Linked DNA regions of Homo sapiens: regions 2, 3, 4, 5, 6 and 7 are each linked to region 1. Evidence: promoter capture Hi-C in 16 types of primary human blood cells and fetal thymus (Javierre and others, 2016). All regions are on one chromosome and are shown on one strand. Each heading gives the region's core, a stretch centred on a gene start or on the middle of the fragment in contact. The rest is flanking DNA. Distances are from core to core; before and after follow the strand shown.

What was found. The method cuts DNA at HindIII sites, captures the fragments that hold promoters and counts their contacts. A CHiCAGO score of 5 or more calls a contact.
Region 2: a fragment that was not itself captured here is called in contact with the fragment with the promoter of ZNF133 in region 1 in 1 of 17 cell types (M0 macrophages); the score reaches 5.4 in M0 macrophages.
Region 3: a contact is called between a fragment that was not itself captured here and the fragment with the promoter of ZNF133 in region 1, in 13 of 17 cell types (M2 macrophages, fetal thymus, M0 macrophages and 10 more). The highest score is 12.2, in M2 macrophages.
Region 4: a fragment that was not itself captured here is called in contact with the fragment with the promoter of ZNF133 in region 1 in 6 of 17 cell types (naive CD8 T cells, fetal thymus, naive B cells and 3 more); the score reaches 7.9 in naive CD8 T cells.
Region 5: a contact is called between a fragment that was not itself captured here and the fragment with the promoter of ZNF133 in region 1, in 2 of 17 cell types (activated CD4 T cells and fetal thymus). The highest score is 6.2, in activated CD4 T cells.
Region 6: a fragment that was not itself captured here is called in contact with the fragment with the promoter of ZNF133 in region 1 in 1 of 17 cell types (fetal thymus); the score reaches 5.2 in fetal thymus.
Region 7: a contact is called between a fragment that was not itself captured here and the fragment with the promoter of ZNF133 in region 1, in 2 of 17 cell types (activated CD4 T cells and naive CD4 T cells). The highest score is 5.2, in activated CD4 T cells.

The regions. Positions count from the first base shown.
Region 1 is chr20:18,286,995-18,289,967 of GRCh38, reverse strand. It overlaps ZNF133 (zinc finger protein 133), which reads right to left and starts at 1,441. Exons shown (of 7, transcript NM_001352452.2): 1 at 1,364-1,441. RefSeq lists enhancers at 709-828, 1,389-1,728, 834-1,739, 1,819-1,868. The HindIII fragment of the contact is 851 bases long and covers 988-1,838 here.
Region 2 is chr20:17,479,233-17,482,205 of GRCh38, reverse strand. It overlaps PCSK2 (proprotein convertase subtilisin/kexin type 2), which reads right to left. Exons shown (of 12, transcript NM_002594.5): 12 at 1-622. The coding sequence ends at 136. It also overlaps the pseudogene DYNLT3P1. Among named protein-coding and RNA genes, the nearest start is that of BFSP1, 51 kb to the left of the region's middle. The HindIII fragment of the contact is 2,946 bases long and covers 12-2,957 here.
Region 3 is chr20:17,497,559-17,500,531 of GRCh38, reverse strand. BFSP1 (beaded filament structural protein 1) reads left to right here. Exons shown (of 8, transcript NM_001195.5): 6 at 1,492-1,712. Among named protein-coding and RNA genes, the nearest start is that of BFSP1, 32 kb to the left of the region's middle. The HindIII fragment of the contact is 3,679 bases long and covers 1-2,973 here.
Region 4 is chr20:17,520,058-17,523,030 of GRCh38, reverse strand. All of the region lies in intron 2 of BFSP1 (beaded filament structural protein 1), which reads left to right. Among named protein-coding and RNA genes, the nearest start is that of BFSP1, 9.8 kb to the left of the region's middle. The HindIII fragment of the contact is 3,250 bases long and covers 1-2,973 here.
Region 5 is chr20:17,592,606-17,595,578 of GRCh38, reverse strand. The region is part of intron 1 of DSTN (destrin, actin depolymerizing factor); the gene reads right to left. Among named protein-coding and RNA genes, the nearest start is that of DSTN, 24 kb to the right of the region's middle. The HindIII fragment of the contact is 1,442 bases long and covers 832-2,273 here.
Region 6 is chr20:17,633,264-17,636,236 of GRCh38, reverse strand. RRBP1 (ribosome binding protein 1) reads left to right here. Exons shown (of 25, transcript NM_001365613.2): 7 at 573-691; 8 at 2,624-2,777. Among named protein-coding and RNA genes, the nearest start is that of RRBP1, 47 kb to the left of the region's middle. RefSeq lists an enhancer at 1-369. The HindIII fragment of the contact is 2,247 bases long and covers 401-2,647 here.
Region 7 is chr20:18,808,922-18,811,894 of GRCh38, reverse strand. SCP2D1-AS1 (SCP2D1 antisense RNA 1) reads left to right here. Exons shown (of 3, transcript NR_161343.1): 3 at 1,780-2,544. Among named protein-coding and RNA genes, the nearest start is that of SCP2D1, 3.4 kb to the left of the region's middle. The HindIII fragment of the contact is 6,321 bases long and covers 1-2,973 here.

The DNA of each region.
Region 1 (2,973 bases), core at 192-2,691:
AAGAAAATCAAGGGAAATCCTCTCCAGCAGGGCAGTACCTCCTATTCCTTAACAGCATCAGGAATGAACCTGCCACAGAAGAAAAGGAGAAAAGAACTGCGGGCAGCTTCCTGGGAACACAGCTGGGGTACAGGTTGAAAGCACGACCTGCCCTGATATGCTGTTGACGCTGAGCATGAAGCGACCTTCTCTGTGCCTGTTATTAATGAAAGGTAATATTCACTGAACACTTAGTATACACCAGAGACTGTTACAGCCACTGTAGGAGTTTCACCTCATTCTATCCTTTCAACAACCCAATACGATAGATGCTATTATCCTCTTTAGGATAAAATCGAGGAAACTGAGGTACAGTGAAGTCAGCATCTTGCCCAAGGTGACACAGCTATAAAGTGACAGAGCCTAGAGGAAATGTGGCTGTGGAGACCGTGCTCTTACACAGTAAGGGCAGTGACGGTGAACTCTGGATTGCAAGGATTCTCTGTGTCCATTCTGAGATGAATCAAGATTGGTCATAAGGTTTTAAGTGTTGAATCTGGGTGATGGAGATCTGGTCTATAGAGTTCTATCTACTTCTGGCTGTTTGAAATTTCTCCGCAATAAAAACTTAAATGGAATGTAAAATCCCAAAGCCTGGCCACACCAGGGGCCTGGGAATCCGTAATTCTTGCGATCAATGACGGTCCCTGGGACCTTTGGAAAAAACCTGTCCTGTGCGTCCCAGCCAGACTTCCTCCTCCAACGCCCGAACCCGGGGGTGACCAACCAAAGTGAAACCCTAAGATCGCGGCAAAATGGCCACCCCAGATCCAGTCTAACCTTGGCTTGTTTGGTCAAGCCAGACCGCTCCTCATTCCACTCCAGCAAAGCCGAAGAATAGTGTGGCCCCAAGAGACTAGCCCTCAACCGACCAATGCCTCGGGGACACATGGCCCCAGGGATGGTTCCCATTCCACCACCTGGGAAATACCATTCCCCCAAAAAGCTTATTTATTCAACTCCCCCAAAACCGGGGACTTATGGCATCAGCGACTCCCTTTCCCAATACCCGACTTCAGCCAAAGCCGAACCTGTCCCCACCCACAAGAACCCTAGGAGAGAGAGCCCGATCCCCCACTCATCACCATCCAGTTTCACGGATGGGCTTCACCCAACTCCCCTGGAGATGCACGCCCACACCCCCAAAATAAGACATCTGGGAGAGGACGGCCTGCGCCACGCCAGCGCGTTCCCACCACAATCACCACCCCCGCGCCACCCGCACGGTCCCCAAATTCAGCCCATAGTCCAGCCTTTCGGGACCTTCCTTTTCGCGCAGAAAAGGGTACGGCTGCGGCAAGGGTCCCGCGGGAGCCTCACTCACCAGCGCCACCAAAGAACAAGGGGTCGCTCCAGCCACCAGCTGGGGAGCTCCTCCAGCGGGGCGCCAGGACTACACTACCCCGAATCCTCGGCACAGCGCCCGGACCACACCTCCCAGGATGCTCGGCGCCACCAGGCGCGCCCTGAAGGCCGGCAGCTCCCATTGGCCTCTGACGGATCCGTTTCTGAGTAACACGCTCCGGTCACCGGAGAATGGCCACTGTGGCACCTGAATTCTCCCTCTTTTTTCTTAACCACGTGCATAAAACACGTAGGAGCTCCCGAGAAGAGTGCCTGGCCCTACTGTGACCCTCCTTCTGAGCGCCTCTGTCTCGAAAACTACACTTCCCAGTGACCCCTGGAGCGACTTCCGCACCCGGTACCGGCCCCGCCCCTTGGCGCGCGGAAATGACGTTTCGGGGCGCATCTGTTCGGCTTCTGGGGTTGGCGGAGGTGTACCGCTGGCTGACCAAGCTTGTTCAGGTGCTGGTTTGTGTTGCAGCGGCCTGTGGTCTCCCTGGCTCCAGCCGCCTGCTTGGAAAGTCACGCCCCATATTCCTAAACACCGGGCGAACGTCATGTCGTATACCCTTTAGCTCCATTTAAAGCCTTGAAAAGGCCGAGCAGTCTGCCTGAAGTCTCACATCCCGTACGAGGTAGACCCGATTCTGAGCCCACGCCCTCAACCCGAATACACCTTTTCCGGTGCCCTGAGACCTTTTTCTTCTTTTTGAAATCCACGAAGTTATTGTTAAACTCTCATCTCCTGAGAAGCAGAAGCCTCAGTCTCGGGCCAGAGCTTGGCCTGCCGTCGGCTTGGATCTCTAGGTCTTTGTCCGGGATCCTGGTTGAGAACAAGATTGCGCTGGTGCCATCTGGGACGCCCCATCTGGGGAGCTCGAGGGGAAGGCCCACGTCACTCTTGAGAGGGCTTTTCCACCCGTGCACCCTCTCACTGCCCTTCACCTTCCTCAGATAGGCTTTCTGAAACTTTGTCATTCTCTTGGAAGACCAAGAAAATGACCACTGTCTGAAGGGCCAGGGAGATGAGAATTTCCTAAAATTCTTTTGTAGCTCTCAGAGGGTGAATCCATTCCCTTCTGGTACCCCGAGGCTACATTATTTATTGTGAATTCAGTTCAGTCCTGGCTCCGGAGACATGTCCAGTGTCAATTGGATTCATCCCTCAACATCATTCTCTGCCTCATGAGTCAGTCATCACCAAGAAATTAGTTGTTAATACACATAAAGGTTCAGAACAACAATGCAGGGATGCCTGTGTTCAAGTGTTCACTTGTGCTGGCTGTACAATAAAGACACAGATGGCTGACATCTCTTAAGCCTGGAAATGAAGACTTACAGGATGAGGTGCTGCCTGAGGAATTAGGCAAGATGAGGAGTTGGAAGAACACAGACGAGTAAGGAAGAGTGTAGGAAGTGTGAACAGAATCTCAGGGTCTGAGCCACTGGGTGGACTGTCATGACCACAGTGAGATTTTCAGCAGCACGTGGTCTTGCAGCCAGCTGACTTGCATATAGACAGGGATGCTAGATGTCCACCGTCTAGATGTACAGCTCTGTCATACAGATATTTGGTGTGTCCAGCCTCCA
Region 2 (2,973 bases), core at 235-2,734, 810 kb after region 1:
TGAGTGAAGCTTCAGATTAAGAAGACGGAATTGCCTGTACGGGTGATGGAATTGCTAGGTGCCTGCCTGAAACGTGGAGCGAGGACAGAGGCGGAGCTGGGGAGGGAGGGCGGTGGGAAAGGCGGATGTGCAGCGCTAGTTCTTGTTAAGGATGCTTTTCAGGCTTCTCTCCACGGCTTCGTCCAGCTCTTCCTCCAGCTCCTCTTTCTTGGACATGGCCAACTTGGACTGGTAATCCCGCACCACCTGGTCGATGTACGGGGCACTCTGAGTGCCATGCAGCATCAGGGTCCACTCCTTCAGCACCCCCTTCTGCGGGGCGCTGCCGACAAATCCCAGCTCCAGGGTCCAGGTGCCTCGGGCGTCTTCCCCCCACGTGTGAGTGGTCATGAAAGGCCACTTGTCAAAGCCCACCTTGGAGTCGTCATCCCTTGGACGCCGGCTCAGCAAAATGGACTTGGTGCCCATAGGGGAAGTCATGTTGATGTTCAGGTCTCCTCTTCTGGTTGCGTTGACCGTGATGACAGCCTGGACATGCTCCAGGTAGCGGACAAAATTTTCCTTCCCCTCACAGGCGTCGGTTGTGAGTGTCAGCACCAACTTGCCAGTGGATGGTATTTTCCTGAGGGCAGAGTGAAGAGGAGATAGGATAAGCAGTGGTGGGTGCACCTTACAAGGGATTTTGAGGGCAGCTTCAGGTGGCGGAAAGGGCAAGGGCTTTGGGGTTGATCAATCAGACCTGGGTTTAGTTCCCACACTGGCTGTGTGAGCCTGAGTAAGTTACTTATCTCTTTTTTTTTTTTTTTTTTTTTTTTTTGTCTTTTGAGACAGGGTCCCACTCTGTTGCCCGGGCTGGAGTGCAGTGGTGTGATCTCAGCTCACTGCAACCTTCAGCTCCTGGGTTCAAGTGATTCTCATGCCTCAGCCTCCCCAGTAGCCAGGGTTACAGGCATGTGCCACCACGCCTGGCTAATTTTTTGTATTTTTAGTAGAGACGGAGTTTCACCATGTTGGCCAGGCTGGTCTTGAACTCCTGGCCTCAAGTGATCCAGCTGCCTTGGCCTCCCAAAGTGCTGGGATTACAGGTGTGAGCCACCACGCCCGGCTGTGAGCAAGTTACTTACGCTTGGAACCTTCTGTGTGGAAGGAGAATGTAGTAGATGCTGTGATGTCCCTCCTGAGTCTCCTAAGTCCCTTCTGAGTTCACCTGCAGCTGAAGCTCCCTTGCACGTCCACTGCTTCCCACCCCAGGCACGAGAATCTCCCCGTGTTCCCCCTGGGCTTCCTCCCACCTCCGTGGAAGCCTGCACAGCCTGCGTGCAGGGCGGCCCAAAGGTGGCAGGGATTTAACCTTTGAGGGGTAGCTCTCTCCCAGTGACTGACAGGTTTTTACCCCGGTTTCTCTATTCCTCAGCGTGACAACTCAGTGTCCCTAGTGGGACTGAGCTCAGCTGCCCACGGTGGCAACTCGCTCATTAATGCACTCTTCATTGGCTTTTCTCCCCTTCCTTATTTTACATCTCCAATTCCTCACTTGTGTTACCTGGGATCATTTCTCAAAAAACTGTCAGCACCCAAGTCTTGTCTCAGGTTGGACTTCTGGGACAACCCAGACTGAGGCAGGAACTCATAATGTCTTTCTTTCAAAGTGCTAAGTGCTTTGATAAATAGAAGCTGTTGCTAATATGACTGCCATTACTACCATTAAGAAAAGCTGGGCCGGGCGCAGTGGCTCACGCCTGTAATCCCAGCACTTTGGGAGGCCGAGGCGGGCGGATCATGAGGTCAGGAGATCGAGACCATCATGGCTAACATGGCGAAACCCTGTCTCTACTAAAAATACGAAAAATTAGCCGGGCTTGGTGGTGGGCGCCTGTAGTCCCAGCTACTTGGGAGGCTGAGGCGGGAAAATGGCTTGAACCCGGGAGGCGGAGCTTGCAGTGAGCCGAGATCGCGCCACTGCACTCCAGCCTGGGTGACAGAGCGAGACTCTGCCTCAAAAAAAAAAAAAAAAAAAAAAAGAAAAGCTGAAAATGGGTAAATTAATTCCAGTGAAAGGCAGTCCAATGAATGATCAGGAGACTTTGGGGGAGTCTTTGGCGAGAGTTGGAGCGAGGTTAAGCCCAAGTACTCTCTAGGCTGTCCTTACAGGCAATCTCCTTTCTGGAGATGGCCTTCTTGGAGTGGGAGAAGCTCAAAGGTTCTTGCAGTAGAAAGAAGGAAAAAAGGAAACCGCATTTGAGGATTGCGTGGTGTAACATCAAGACTCCAGACTTTGAGAATAAACCCATTTGGATTAGAATTCTGCTTCTATGTTTACTGCTCATGAGAGCTTGGGCAGGTTATTTAAGCACTCGAAGTTTCACTGTCATTGTGGATAGTTCTTTTTTTTTTTTTTTTTTTTTTTTTGAGACGGAGTCTTGCTCTGTCGCCCAGGCTGGAGTGCAGTGGCGCCATCTCGGCTCACTGCAAGCTCCGCCTCCCGGGTTCACGCCATTCCTGCCTCAGCCTCTCGAGTAGCTGGGACTACAGGCGCCCTCCACTGTGCCCGGGTAATTATTTATATTTTTAGTAAAGACGGAGTTTCACCGTGTTAGCCATGATGGTCTCGATCTCCTGACCTTGTGATCCGCCTGCCTCGGCCTCCCAAAGTGCTGAGATTACAGGCGTGAGCCACCGCGCCCGGCCGTATGATTCTTGTGTGGTTAAATAAGACCATGTATGAAATACCAGGCACAGGCGTAGCTCCGCCCCCAGGGAGAACAGGCGCTACCATGGAGGAGTACCATCGCCACTGCGACGAGGTTGGCCTCAATGCTGAGGAAGCCCACAATATTGTCAAAGAATGTGCAGACGGGGTTTTAGGTGGTGAAGATTATAATTACAACAACATCAACCAGTGGACCGCAAGCATAGTGGAATTATCGTTAACACATCTGCCTAAGCTGGGAAAAGCTTATAAATGTATTGTGA
Region 3 (2,973 bases), core at 334-2,833, 790 kb after region 1:
ACTTTTTTTTATGCAACTGGCAGCACAGTCTGTTTACGCCGGCGTCCTCACAGACATGTGAGTGAACGTATGGCTCCACGGCCCTAGGATGGCTGCGGTTGTCACAAGGCGACAGGAATTGTCCAGCTCCATTGTACTCTTATGGGACCACCATCCTATATGCAGTCCATTGTTGACTGCAGTACTGTTATGTGGCCCATGACTGAGCATTTGTGGGTCTTTGTGTATCATCACAACCTCTTACACTGAATATAAAACTATCTCTTTCTGTTTTCCTCCCTTAATTTTTACTTGCTCTGATTAATGTACTGTATTTCTCTGACATTATTTTATGTGTACACAAGGGCACACACATACACCTTAGCTACCAAAACATAAATGTAACTCTGCCGATCCAAACTCGGGAGAAAATCAAAGCTGAATGAGAACAAGGAAACTTTTCTCCCACTCAGTATTTCAATAAAGGTAGCATCTTATCTATTTAGTATGTGCTTCTTTTTACTTATTTTTTTGCTATCAGATTTATGCTTGTTCATTAAAGTCTGAAGAATGTACTTTATTTGAATTATACATATTATTCCACCGATAGCAAGTTTTTTTTCTTTTTCTTTTAGACAGAGTCTTGCTCTGTTGCCCAGGCTGGAGTGCAATGGTGTGGTCTTGGCTCACTGCAGCCTCTGCCTCCCAGGTTCAAGTGATTCTCCTGCCTCAGCCTCCCAAGTATCTGGGATTATGGCGTGTGCCACCACTCCCAGCTAATTTTTGTATTTTTAGTAGAGATGGGGTTTCACTATGTTGGCCAGGCTGGTCTCAAACTCCTGACCTCAAGTGATCTGCTAGCCTCGGCCTCCCAAAGTTCTGGGATTACAAGTGTGAGCCACCTGGCCTAGGTTTCGTTTTATTTTCTAGGTTTGTCTTCAGACTGCCTTTGGGGTGGGCCTCCTTATGGACTAATTGCAGAGGGTGCTGATATTAGTGCAAGAAGGGCTGGGTGCGGTGACTCGCACCTGTAATTCCAGCACTTTGGGAGGCTGAGGTGGGAGGATCACTTGAAGCCAGGAGTTTGAAACCAGCCTGGGCAACGAAGTGGGACCCTATCACTACCAAAAAAAAAAAAAAAAAAAAAAAGCCCAGCATGTTGGTGCTTGCCTGTAGTCACAGCTACTCAGGAGGCTGAGGTGGAAGCCTTTAGCCTGGGAGGTCGAGGATGCAGTGAGCCGAGATTGCACTCCTGCATTCCAGCCTGGTGACAAAGTGAGATCCTCTATCAAAAAAAAAAAAAAAAAAAATTGTGTAAGGACACAGGAGCTCAGTTTTCACATTGCTTTTTAGCTTAAGGATTCCAAAGTGATTCATTGCTAATCTCGAATGGACAGAGAAACACACAAACAACATAAAACATTCACCGAGTCCAGGTTCCTTTTCCTGGTGAGGTCTGTCTCTTAGAGAAGAAGGGGGATGGATTTTCTTACAGCGTGTCCTTGCCCACAGACAACAACTCTGGAACAAGCTATTAAAAGTGCCCATGAGTGTTATGACGATGAGATTCAGCTTTATAACGAGCAGATTGAGACACTGCGCAAGGAGATTGAGGAGACAGAGCGGGTCCTGGAGAAGTCTTCTTACGACTGCCGGCAGCTGGCGGTCGCCCAGCAAACCCTGAAGAATGAGCTGGACCGGTATCATCGTATCATCGAGATTGAAGGCAACAGGTGAGCGTGTGCCCTCCCCATCCAGGCCACTTATTCCTTCCACAACTCTTTATTGAGTGCCTATTGTGTGCCAGGCACAGTTATAGGCAGTGGGCATGTGTCAGGGAAGGAAACAGAACAATTCCTGACCCCATGGGTGTTGGATAACTAGTAGGGGAGACAGAGGATGAAGGTACGACCAGTGCTGAGGAGGAAGTTCCCGCAGGGAGGAGGGTGGTGGCAATAGGGGTGATGGGGGAATGCTTGCAGTTTTAAGTAGGGTGGTCAGAAAAGGCCTCACTGAGAAGCCTGTGTTTTGCTCATAGGCCTCTGGGGACATAAGTGTCCCAGCAGGTGGGATGCCCAGGAGTATTTAATGAGGTGCTGCAGGTGAGCTACGTGGCACGGAGCCTGGCACTTGAGGGCACTCAGAGGTGTTGGTGATGCTCCTGCTGCCATCCTCACAATTCTTAGCACCTTGCTGAGTCAGTCTGTGGCTGTGACTATGTGGCTGTCTGGTCTTCTCCATAATGGAGCTGTGAGTCGATCCCTACTCACTTTAAGAAAGCTGGGAAATTCTCTCTTTCTCTCCAGCTATGCTGGTATTCATAGCTACGGTGATTTCCAGAGAACGGGTTGGGAATTAATTTGTGATTCTTCACTTCAGTCTTGCTAAATTCCTGGGTTTCGACTGAATGAAAAGAGAAGCCCCCCACAACTGAGGTCCCCACCAGGAGCAGCTCTTCCCTTCGCGCTGGGTGCTCTCTCTTGGCTGTGAGCACTCGAATGCTTGGCAGGAGAAGCAGGATTTTATTTTTCTTTCTCCAGTGCTGGTCGGTGTATCTGGCATGATTCCACATTATATTTATGTCACAGTGAACACTATGCACACATCTGCAAGAATAAGTCTGGAGCTGGCATTTCGGTGACTTTGTAAACATTTTTGTTTTGGGACAGGGCTTCACAGAAAGGTGACTGGATACCTCTTTTATTTATCTATAAGTTCTGATTTTGGTCTAATTTTAAATTGATAGAAATGTTGCAAGAATAGAACAAGGAACTCCTGAATACTCCAGATTCACCAGTTGTTTATATTTTATCTCAATTGCTTTATCATTTTTTCTCTATTTATATATGATGTGTGTGTGTACATGTATATGTATATATGTATATACGTATATATGAGTAGATATATGTATATATGTATATATGTGTGTGTATATGTATATATACGTATATATATACACGTATATATATACGTATATATACATATACACACACA
Region 4 (2,973 bases), core at 190-2,689, 770 kb after region 1:
AGATGCTACCAAGAATGTGGGTGAGACCAGCACAGGCAATTAGCATGACTGGCCCCTGGGTCCAAGTAAGACAGTACTGCCCGCAGGTGAGCTGCAGAGCCCCAGCGAGGAGTGTAGCCTGTGACTAGGAACCTCCTGCTACAGCTGAGCATCTGTGAGACTGTGGGCCAATTGCCTTGTCCCTCTGAGCCTCGGTTTTTTCATCTGTGAAATGGAATCACAATACTCCCCACCCACCATAGGAGTGAAAGTGCCTAGTGAGAACTAAATGATGTAATAATGTATATGACTTGCCCATCACCTGGTGGTGCTGAATCCCTGATCACTGTTATTACTACAGAGCACTTGATGTGACAGACACCAGCTTGGTTTTCTCCACAGTGTGGGTGCAGAACCCTGTTGAAATGGGAGGTGACTTTAGAAAGTGCATGGAGGAGTGATATTTAATAGTTGTGAATTTTTTATGATTACCTGTTATTTACAGCGGATGACATAAAATATTCCTTTCCAAATAAACCTACGTAAGAATGAGTACCTTTAAAGACAAATACAGAGTGAATAAGATGCAGGTGGTCCTTGGATAATAGTAGAAATCATAAACACAGCAGGCAGATGCAGGACGCTGGGGAGGGCCTTGTGCAAGCCTGTGGGAGCCTCAGAACAGCCCGTGGTTATTGGGGGGGCAGGTTTTATTCTCAGAAATGACCTATTCCAAATCCTTCTCTGGGCCAGTGAGGAAACTCACCCTTGATGAGGTTAAATGACTTCAGAGCCTCGCAGCTCAGCCGTGGTAAGTGTAGACAGGAGTTGGGGTCTTTTGTATTTGTGGTTCATTCTCTACCTCCAAAGAATAGTCAGGGAACCGGTATTACTCAGAGGCCAGACACGAAGCCAGAGAGTTCTCGGCTATAGGTGGCCCCATGGACCTTGATGTTGGTGTCCTGTCCACACACCTTGGGCCATGCCAGTGGTCACTCAGACACGCTGAACACCCTGATCACTGCCTGCATCTCGGGCTCTGGGAACATGCATGGCCCACATCAGTATAGTCCAGAAGCGCTGGGTGTTAACACCCCAGGAACAACCCTCAGTTGCTGTGGACTGGGATAGGTGGATAAGTTCCCCACCCCTCATAGTGATGGTTCAGAGCCACATTCCACATGGTCCCTCAGAGGGACCCCAGCCGTACTGAGCTGTCTACAATGGCAACCTGCTCGTCACATTCCTTCATTGGTTTTGTTTCCTTCTCTGGCTCACTAGCCTCCCTTACCTGTGCTTCCTGGGATCACCTCCCAGATAAGCCACAGGTACCCAGTCTTTGCCTTGGGGTCCACTTCTGGAGAACCCAAATAGTCCCTCAAGGGCAGGGCCAGGTGAACACTGGACCTTTTTGTTCTCTGCTGAGATCATCAGATGACATGAAAGAGGCTAAAATTCACATCGCATCAGCTGGTCGTGTGAGTGATTTTGGCCTGCAGGTTTTGGGTATTTTCTTACATCAGATCAACGAGGTTTTAGCTCAGTCTCAGTGGCCATTTCCTTTGGTCTGACTTGTGGAAGGGATTCATCCCTGGGTGTGGCCGTGGGACATCACTGATCCAGTCTTTGCATCCTACTTGGAGGATATTGCAGTGTATGTGAAAGGACTGATGGCCCCTGCCTTCACAAAACCACCATGCATTTCTTCATGCTGCCCGTGTAATCAAGCCTACGGAAAGAGCTCCTGTAGTTTTATCAGCCAGATAAATTATAGTAGGCCACTCTTTGCTGTGCACTTAGAAGTGAAGTAAACTCCTCAACACGTTACCTACAACCTATGGCCAAAGTTATTCAACTTCTCAGCCTTTTGATGTAGTAGGAATTCCAGGTGACTTTAAAATATTTGGGTTTGCTAACTTCTAGATCTCATGGTCACCAAATATATACGTATGAAGTTACTGGTCTGCTATGATGCCTGATTTGCTTATCTTGAGGAAACTGTAAGCAGCAGACTTTAAAATCTCCCTCTCCTTTTCTCTTTAAAATTCCCAGAATTTTAAAATGATGTGGTTTCTAGTCAAATGCTTTCACTTAAAAACAATTTTAAAAATATTTAAAGGCTGACATATATACTTTTTCATGTAATTCATGTGTCTCTTAAACGTGCCTGTGGAAAGCAGCAAGAGGCCAGGGAGTTTAGGGGATAAAATGGTGCAGGCATGAAGCCCTACCTTCAGGGCTATGCCTTTGTATGCCAAGAATTCCTCTGAGCCCGGAAATGAACTTCCGGAGAAGAGAAGGAGAGGAAACTGGGAAGGAAGAGGAGGAGTCTGGGGGTGGAGAGGCAAGAGGAGTGGAGGAAGAGTCAGGATGAATGCAAAGGGAGAGACAGCAAAGTTGAGGAGACTGAGGCAGAGGCAAGAGAGAGGGTGGAGAGATGTAGAATTTGTCCAGTGCCCTCCAGGCCAACATTAGCACCTGGAAGAACAGCCATAACATTTTTGGAAAGGTTTTTGACATCCAGAGTTGAAGGAAAAGTGTTTTTTAATTAAATTCCAGCTAACTAGAACTCTTAATGAACTTAAATACCCATTCTTTAGCAGTTGGGTTTTAAATGGAGTTTCTGGGATCCCTGTGAATAGGTCAGCAAGGCTGTTTTTTTTCCTTTTTAATCCCCACCATTTGAGTTAAAAAAGGGCTGATTTTCAATAATGCTCCAAATTCTAGTTATTTCTCCAGCTCCTTTCTAAAAACATGGCTGTAAATAGTCTAGATTAGTGGTTCTAAAACTTCAGTGTGCATCAGTGTTACCTGGGGTGAAAGGTGGGCGGGGTGGGGGGGCACGTTAAAACCCAGACTCCTGGGCCCCAGCCCCAGAAATTCTAAGCCAGTAGGTCTGGCATCTGCTGGAGTATTTGCATTTCTGATCCGTTCCCAGGTGTTGTGATCCAGGGACCACACTTTGAGGACCACTGGTCTAGATCTAGGACATAG
Region 5 (2,973 bases), core at 303-2,802, 690 kb after region 1:
GGCACCATCTCGGCTCACTGCAACCTCTGCCTCCTGGGTTCAAGCAATTCCAGAGGAGATAATCTTAATCACTCATAAAATTAACAATATCAGAGATCTAAAGAAATGGGTAAGATCCACAGCACAGATGGGAGAGTTAGCCTAAGAAAAAGATACACATTTTTTTCTCTGAAACAGGGAGGAAGGGAAAATGACAGTTTTGAGGTGGAAGGAAGATACACTGCCAAAAATTGTGTCTGAAAGATTCTATTTTCTCTGTGAAGTATAAGGCAGGAGGAGTAGGATGGGTTTGAGGGCACTCCTCCAATCTACTACTACTAACAATTCAGAACAGCTATGACGGGGAGTTCCAAAAGGAACTACCTAAGGACAAGAAAAAGGGCTCTGGGGACCTCCAAAAGGTCAGCTGAGGTCAAGGGGTGAGGGTGGTAGGACAATGCAGTGGAAAGCAGAGGCTGATGGCAGTGTGGAAGGAAAGGACGAACTCTGCATTCTTCCTCAGAGAGTTTACCCAAGCTCAAGCTTTCAATCATCTAAGCCAAAACTTAGTTCAGACTTCTGCTCTTCTGAGCTTCTAGTCTTTACATTCAACTTCCTATCTCACATCTCCAGTTGTGTGTCTCAAAGGCATGTGATGCACAACATGTCTAAAATAAAAAACAAGCTGGTCCATTTCTAACCAGTCTTCCTTTCTCAGTAGCTATCACCACCCTCCTAGTCACATAAGGCTCCAAGCCTAAGAGATGTTCTTAGCAACTCCTCCATTATCTTACTCTTTGGATTTTCATCTTTCTCTGATACATTCATCTCATTTCACCCTCAGTCCAAGCTTCCATTGCCTCTTACTTGGACTGCAGTAACTCCTCAAGTGGCTGCAGAGGAGGGAGATTAGGATATGTATACATCATACTGTTTTCTCTTCTTGGCTGAACAGGAAAGACTGCATTCCCCAGCCTTCCTGGCAAGCTGAGTTGGCTGTATGACTGAGTTCTGAACAGCCATTTGAGTTCTGAACAGCCAAGCTGGGCCCAGTTATGTAAACTACTTCCAGTCCTGGCCCTTTAAAAGTGATCTTTAAATACACTAAATACAGCTTTTTAGATGTGAATCCTACCACAATAAAATGATTTTTAAAACATCAAAAATTAAATAAAAGTTAAATAAAAGTGATCTTAAAGCTCTGTTTTCTCCCACCAAGATGACCTTGGTAAGCATACTTCATGATAGGAGAAGGCTGCCCAACCCTTCTGGACTCTGCGTGACAGAGACAAATCTTTACTGTGTTAAGTCACTGAGATTTTGAATTTAATTTGTTATTGCAGTTCTAATACAACAAGACTGCCCATACCAACTGCCCATCACCTTTACCCTCCAATTCATCCTCTACATAAACATGAATCTGATCACCATACTTAGAACAGTCCAGTGGCTTTCCATTGATCTGAAGGTAAAAAATAGCTATTTATTTATTTATTTATTTATTTATTTATTTATTTTTGAGATACGGTGTCACTTCGTCACCCAGGCTGGACTGCAGTGGCATGATCATAGCAAACTGCAGCCTCGCACTCCTGGGCTCAAGTGATCCTCCCACCTCAGCTTCCTGAGTACTGGGACTATAAGCACGTGCCACCATGCCCAGCTAATTTTTAAAATTTTTTTTGTAGAGACAAGGTCCCACTATGTTGTCCAAGCTGGTCTCAAACTTCTGGCCTCAAGCTATTGTCCTGCCTTGGCCTCCCAAAGTGCTGAGACTACAGGTATGAGCCACCACCCCCAGCCCAATAATGGGCTCCATTTGGCTATACCTACCTCTTTAGCCTTATCTTATAGACCACACACTGCAATTTCACTACCCTGGCTTTCTTTCAGTCATTTGTACTTGCCATACTCTGGCCCACTTCAGGGCCTTTGCTCATACTATACACCCTGCCTAGATAGCACTTCCCTACAGTTCTTTGGCTAATACTCTTTAGATGTCAGATCAATTCTCACTACGCAGAAAAGTCTTCTGCATCAAAACCAGTATCACATGCTCCCATAAGATCATGTATCTCCACCACACACCACCTCCTACCACTTCAATGCTCTATCTTTAAAATTACTTAATATCATCTCCTTAAGGCCACAAGTTCTTAAAGACTGTAAGTTCCTTAAGATAAACGGTGTCTGTCTTATTCATTATTGTGTTACCCTGAAAAAAAAATCAAAGATCAGTCAGATGAATCATTAGTTTGACTTATGGAGAAGATAAGGACAGCACATACAAAGCTTCAATACTTGGTAGAATATACATTATTCCTTGATAAACTCCAGTGGAAGGGAATTTAAAGAAAGTAGCTTAAACAGAAAGACAGTTCATCAGGTAGTTTCATGCTGACTTAAAAGCACTCTAAAACAAGGGGACTGAAAGGATGAAAAGACTGCTCCTGACAAAGAGAACCCAGCAAATACAACAGGAGATGAGGATAAGGGAGAAGGAAACTGGAGACTCGCACCAGGTTGAGATGGAAAAGGCCTCCAACAGAAGGTTCAGGGGTTTGGAGACTGGATATTTTTAAAAAGAGTAAGAGGAACAGAGTTGTGCTTTGGGAAAATACATGAAGCCATGCGTAAGAGAACAAGAAGAGGAAGAAAATTATAGTAGGCACTCCAGCTAAAAGGCTAATTCAGCAACCAAGGCAAGAGGTGCAAAAGGCCTTCACTAGGGTAGTGGCAGCATTACTAAGGAGGAAGTGATGGGAACTGCATAGGTGCAATCAATTGTAGTTGACAATCACTGGACTGGGAGAGGGGAGGTGGAAAGGAAGGAGTCTGTATGGTGATCAGGAGGCTAATTAATAATGCCAAATGCTCACTTTCCTTAATTTCCCCACTGTGGTGGCTTTGATATTAGAGTAGTATGGCTCTTCATGACTAGTAACTAGTAGTATGGCTCTTCATGACTAGTAACACTATATACTAAATTTTGCC
Region 6 (2,973 bases), core at 275-2,774, 650 kb after region 1:
CGCAGGCTCTATCTTCTTTCCACATGGTGGGGAGGATCCCATAATACCAAGGCCTGAAAATCACACAGCTCCAGCGGCCAGCACTGGGCGGCTGCCCAGACTGGCCCTGTAGTCAAAGTCTGAAGCCTGCACCCTGCTCATAGTGGGCTGCGACCTCCTCCCTGCTGCATGTCTCAGGACGTGCTGGAGGTCAGAGGGCAGGAATCGAGGCTTCCTCAGGGGGGTTAGAGGCGGTGCATGTGCTTTGTCTTAGAACAGTCAACCATGTGACCTTGGAGGCAGATGTTCATGGGGTGTGTCAGAGACCCTGGGCTGAGTGTTCAGCCTTGGGCAGGCCATGAGCAGTGAGGAGGGAGAGAGGTGTCGCTGGGTGTGGGAGTCATGCTTGGCCGCTTAAGCTTCGCAATTTTCAGGCCTCTTGTTTTATGGGATCCTCTTAACTTCCACGTGGAAAAGGTGGAGGCTTTTGGGGGTTTTCTTTTGTGGGCTGTGTCTTCACTAACCACTGCTCAGAAGTCAGTTCTGTGTGTGAGGCCGAGCTGCCTCTGATGCCCTTGCCCGTGACTTTCCAGATCCGGACTCTTCAGGAGCAGCTGGAGAATGGCCCCAACACGCAGCTGGCCCGCCTGCAGCAGGAGAACTCCATCCTGCGGGATGCCTTGAACCAGGCCACGAGCCAGGTGGAGAGCAAGTAAGCTGAGCTTTCCTGCCTCAGCACCTCCCCAAGGGCCCTGGAGCGAGGAAGGCTTCACGAGGCTGCGGCCAGGGCAGCTGGCACAAGAGCCAGGCATGGGCCCTACATGTGTGCGGAGCCGTCCTGACCTTCCATCTCCCGTCTGGGTTCTGGGCCCCTGAGTCTTCTAACAGGTGGCCCAGCGTCCCTGTGGTGGCTGGTGGTGGGCCTCGACTGTGCCCTGGAGCACAGCCTCCTGCTCTGCAACACCCTTGCTTCAGATGCACTGGTACTAGGGAGGGTTTCCAGCACCCACCTGCCTAGCGGGGTTCTCATCTCAGTGTTGTCTCTGAGTTGCTGAAGCACCGCAGCCCACAGCAAGTGGGCCGGAGGGTGCACTTCCCCTCCGGAGTTGAGTACAGCCGCACTTCTGCTTCCCTGATTTAAGCATTACACCCTCAGTGGCAGCCCTCGAGAAACCCACTGCAGTGTCTTTAGTTGTACATTTCTTTGCTTTCTCTGGTCCGAAGTGTCCTGCAGGGACTTGGCAGAGCTCTGTGTTATCCCGAAAGCCTCTGCTCTCACCAAGGCAGGGGCTGACCACAGCAGAGCACGCTGGCACCCTTAGTCCTTGTCTGGGAGTCGGGTCAGGGGAAGTCCAGTGTGGGAGCTGGACAGGGAGGGGAGCTGGGCCAAGTATCTGTTTTGACTATGGCTCCCTCTGACGTGGAGTGAGATCCAGCAGCTGCCTTCCCCTCTGCCTGTCCCCTCTGGGTCCCCTTCCTGAGCCATCGGCTGGTTGGAGGTTTGTGGCTGCTGTTTCCCCAAAAGCCACAGCAGAAGGCATATGTGGGGACTGAGAAATTCTCTGGCGTCTCCCCACATAGGATCTGCTGTGGCCTCCTTAATGGGTAAGGCTCTAAAGCCAGGAGACTTGTCACGCTGAGGCAGTGGCCCTGCCAGTCCAGAAGCTCTGGCTGGTGGGTGGCTCTCAGCAGCGGGATGTGTTTTCCCAGGCCCACTTCAGAGCTCCCAGTCCATCTTGAGGGCACCACACGACCTTCCGCCTCCCTCCTAGGTCACTTGAACCTTGGCCTTGTGAAGCATGGAGCTGATGGACCTACAGTGGGCTTTGGTGTGGCCTCCCCGGTACAGACGAGGCAGCCCCCAAGTCAGAGAGGTGGGACCCACCACCCCGCAGGCAGCAGAGCAAATCTAGCCTCAGCCCGGTTTCCCAGCTCCGCCTGGCCTGGTGCTGCGTCCCAGGGTTTGGGACAGTCTCGTCTGGTGGTGTCCCTTGGTTGGACAGTCAGTCTTTGGCCTTGAGGCAGCGTCTGCTAGTGAGGGAGTGGCATCCTGATCACACGCCTTACGCTGGAAAGGCAGGCCTCCAGCTGCCCCCTTTTCCTTTAAGTCTCCTTCTGTAACTCCGGAACATTCCTCCCAGCTCCTGAGACCCAGCTTTTGAAGTGCAGTCCTGAAGGGTCTGTTTTGTAAGCACCTCAGGCTCTGGCTTTGGGCAGCCTCCCCAGCCTGGCCCTGGTCCAGCTGGCCAGTGAGGGGGCGCGTGGACTCCGTGGGCTGCTGCCCACAGGCCTACAGGGCGTCAAGGCGGGTGGATCTTCATCTCAAGGCTGGTTTGCACCCAGAACTGTGTTGCCGTTTTCTGTGAATTTCTGGCTGTTTCTGGGAGGGGCTCCCCTGGGATGCTTTAGTGCACATTTGCTCTATGCTGTCTCTGGTTCATGCACTATATAGGTAAAACAATGTCTTCAACAAAACACATGCCCAACCCCACACAGCTGATAATGGAAAAGTGGCTTTGGTAATGGCTTCAAGACTTGGGCAACTGCTTACTTACAAGAGAGCTGGAGTCCTGGAGGGAGGGCTTGGACCACCGATCCCATCACCCTTTTCTTTCCATTAGTCGGGCTGGTGACTGTCTTGCAGGCAGAACGCAGAGCTGGCCAAGCTTCGGCAGGAGCTCAGCAAGGTCAGCAAAGAGCTGGTGGAGAAGTCAGAGGCTGTGCGGCAAGATGAGCAGCAGCGGAAAGCTCTGGAAGCCAAGGCAGCTGCCTTCGAGAAGCAGGTCCTGCAGCTGCAGGTGAGTCGGGGCAGTGGCCGCCTCAGTGCCCTGTTCACTGCCCAGCAAGCCTGTCTGCATAGCGGGGATGGGCCCAGGCTGGCCGTGCCACACTGGGCACCCGTTTCTAGCCTTGACTGGGACAGATGATGGTGTCTGCAGGGCTGGGGCTCAAACTCTTCACCTTAGTCTCCTTGGTAGTAGTTACAGCTGGCAT
Region 7 (2,973 bases), core at 295-2,794, 520 kb before region 1:
GTTTATTCTGTGGGTCATAATCTACTATTATCATTGTTTATTTCCTTGCTAAATTGTCCCAGATTTGGCCATAGGGAGCTTCATCAAGTTGGAGCCTGTATCCTTTCCTATACCAAACTGCTCTTATGTGTAAGCAAAGCTCTGTTATATGGAGTTGCTGGAAACTTCGTTCTTTCTGGGAATGTTGCAGAAGAATGAAAAAGGCTTCAAAGTACATTTGCAAAGATGGATGAGCTGCTGTTATCAAAGCTGAGCAGTTAAACAAAGCCCAGTGTCTTCCAAAACCATGTTCTTGCCATGAGGTCACCAGGTATGGACAACATCAGCACAGAGATTTTAAAATGAGGAGGGCAGGAATTCCCCAGCAAGTTCACTATAAGCAGTCAACAAAGAACTGAGCCCCACCACTGCCCGTATCTCATTTTCCTCAAAGACAGCGCCGTCCCATCTAAATTATTCAGGCAGGTCCCCAATAGGGCTGTCATTCTCCTGCCACAGTGTGTCCGAGGGGAATGCAGTTCCACAGCTCATACATAAGAAATCCAAAACATGCCAGGACTCAAGGGAGCACTTCCCCAACGACATTCTTTAGAATTGTCCTCCAATAGAAATAATAAAAGTAGAGACACTGTCTAGTCAGTTTTATTATTTAAATTCTCAACAGATACTACTGCCTTGTTACCTGCACCGTGGCAGGCTGCTTCTCCTACCTTGACTGCCACCCCATTGGCATCTTGAAAACACGCACCCTGCAACTGGACACAATCTTCCTCAGCCCTGTTGAGATTCTTTCCCCTTTGGTTGCCATTCAGACCCAAGGATCTGGTCCCAGCAGATTTGTAGCTTTTTGTTTCTGAATTCTTCAAATGCTTTAAAGGAATGTGAGAGGCATGGAGATCTGTTCCCTAAGAAATACAATTAAATTAAAATTTAAAAATAAAAAATTGCAAAACCATTTTATTAAATAGGATGCTTTTAGCTTCAAGTAACAACCACTACCATAAAAACTGATAATGGTTCAATTCAGTGGTCCCAAAATGGGGTCCCCAGGCCAGTGGCATCAACTCCACCTAGGGATTCATTAGAAATGCACATTCTCAGGCCCCATGCCAGATCTGCTGAATCAAAAACTCTGGGGAGGGGACCCGGCTGTATTAATCAGGGTTCTCCAAAGAAAAAGAACCAATATGATATATAGAGAGAGAGATGAAAGGAGTTATTATAGGAACTGGGTCACATGGTTTTGGAGGTCAAGAAGTCCCACATGCAAACAAGGGACACAGACAGGGGGTGTAATTCATTCCAGGTCCGAAGGCCTGGACTGGGGGGCGGCGGGGGTTGGTGTAAGTCCTGGACCAGGACCCCAGATGTCCAAAGGCAGGAGAAGATCCACGTCTCAGGCCTGGCAGAGAGGCTGAGTTCCACCTTCCCCTCACTTTTTGTCCCATTAAGACCCTCAATAGATGGGATGATGCCTCCCACATTGGGGATGGCCATCTGCCTTACTCAGTCCACCAATTCAAGTGCTGTCCCCTCCTTCTAGAAATGCTTCCATGGACACTCTCTGAAATAATGTTTTACCTCTGGTCTGGGGATCCCATGGCCCAGTCAAGTTGACACATAAAGTGAACCATCATGCCAGCAACTGGGGTTATAACAGGCCCTCCAAGGTCTGAAAATTGGGTTTTTCTACTATGGCTTGGAGAGGTCAGCCAAGACCTCTGTGCTGTGTCCACTCTTGCATTCTACCATCCTCAATGTGTTGCCTTTTGTCCCCAGTTTGTCACTTCACGGCTGCCTGGCTGCCATGGCTCCTTCCATCACATCCTCAGAAGACAGCAGCCCAAGCCAAAGGGACAAAAAAGACCTCTCCTTGGACCTATTGCTTACCAGAAAGAAAAGGTCCCAAGGCCTCCACTGGTCTCACTGGCAAGGACTGAATCACATGTCCATCAGGATTCACACCCCTGAGCAGGGCTCCCCGTCCCTTGGACAGAATTGGAGTTGGGGTAACAGGAAAGAAAAGGGTGTTGCACAGCGACAAGTGCCCACCACAGGTACCCACAGCTTCTTCCATTGCACCTCGGAAGGCAACAAGGAGAAACCCCATCATTTTTGAGAGCTTTGGTGTCATTACATTTCAATAACAAAGGTCATTTCCCTTTTTTGCCAGCCTCCTCATTGGGAACAAAATGTGGCTGGGGGCTTTCTTTCTGAAAGTTTGCAAATCCATCTCCCACTTGCCAACCCAGCACCTGGGCAGGTGTATTCACTCACAGGTGTCGGGCTGGCAGATGGGTCAAACAGAATAGGGGAATGGGATTAAGAAGTGTCACCCACCCCCATCCCCTGAATGGGAACAAATCTATGTCACCGAGTTTACCCTTGCTGTGAGGGCCTCAGACAAGGTGCCTGCACCTGGGTATCAGATGCAGTGAGAGGAGAAGGAAAGGACTTTCACCTTTTACTTTATATATTCTGCTTTGTTTGTAATGAGTGTGCACTCTCTCCATGGTTTCTTAATTGAATACAATTTTTCCAACATCTTATTCTTAAAATTTTTAGGCATATTTTGCAAAGTTGAAAGATTTCTACAGTCAACACTCAAATATTCACCAATATTCTATCATTGCACTATATTACACTTGTTTGAAGCTCTCCATCTTATTTTTATCTTATTTTTATGTTTCAAAGTAAATTACAGGTATCAGTAGCCCCCAAACACTTGAGTATGCAAAGCATTTACTACAGTACAATATTTCTTTAGTTTTTCATGTAAAATTTACACACAAAGAAATGCACAAATCTTAAGTGTACATTTGCTGAGAGTTGACCAATGCACACACCTGAATATAACACATTTTAGTACTAAGGAGCTGAATGCCACGTGGCCCACAGCCCCCAGTTGCCTTGAGAGACACACAGCCATCTGCAGTGTGTGCAGAAGCATGAACAAGCAGGAGCTGGGGTTTC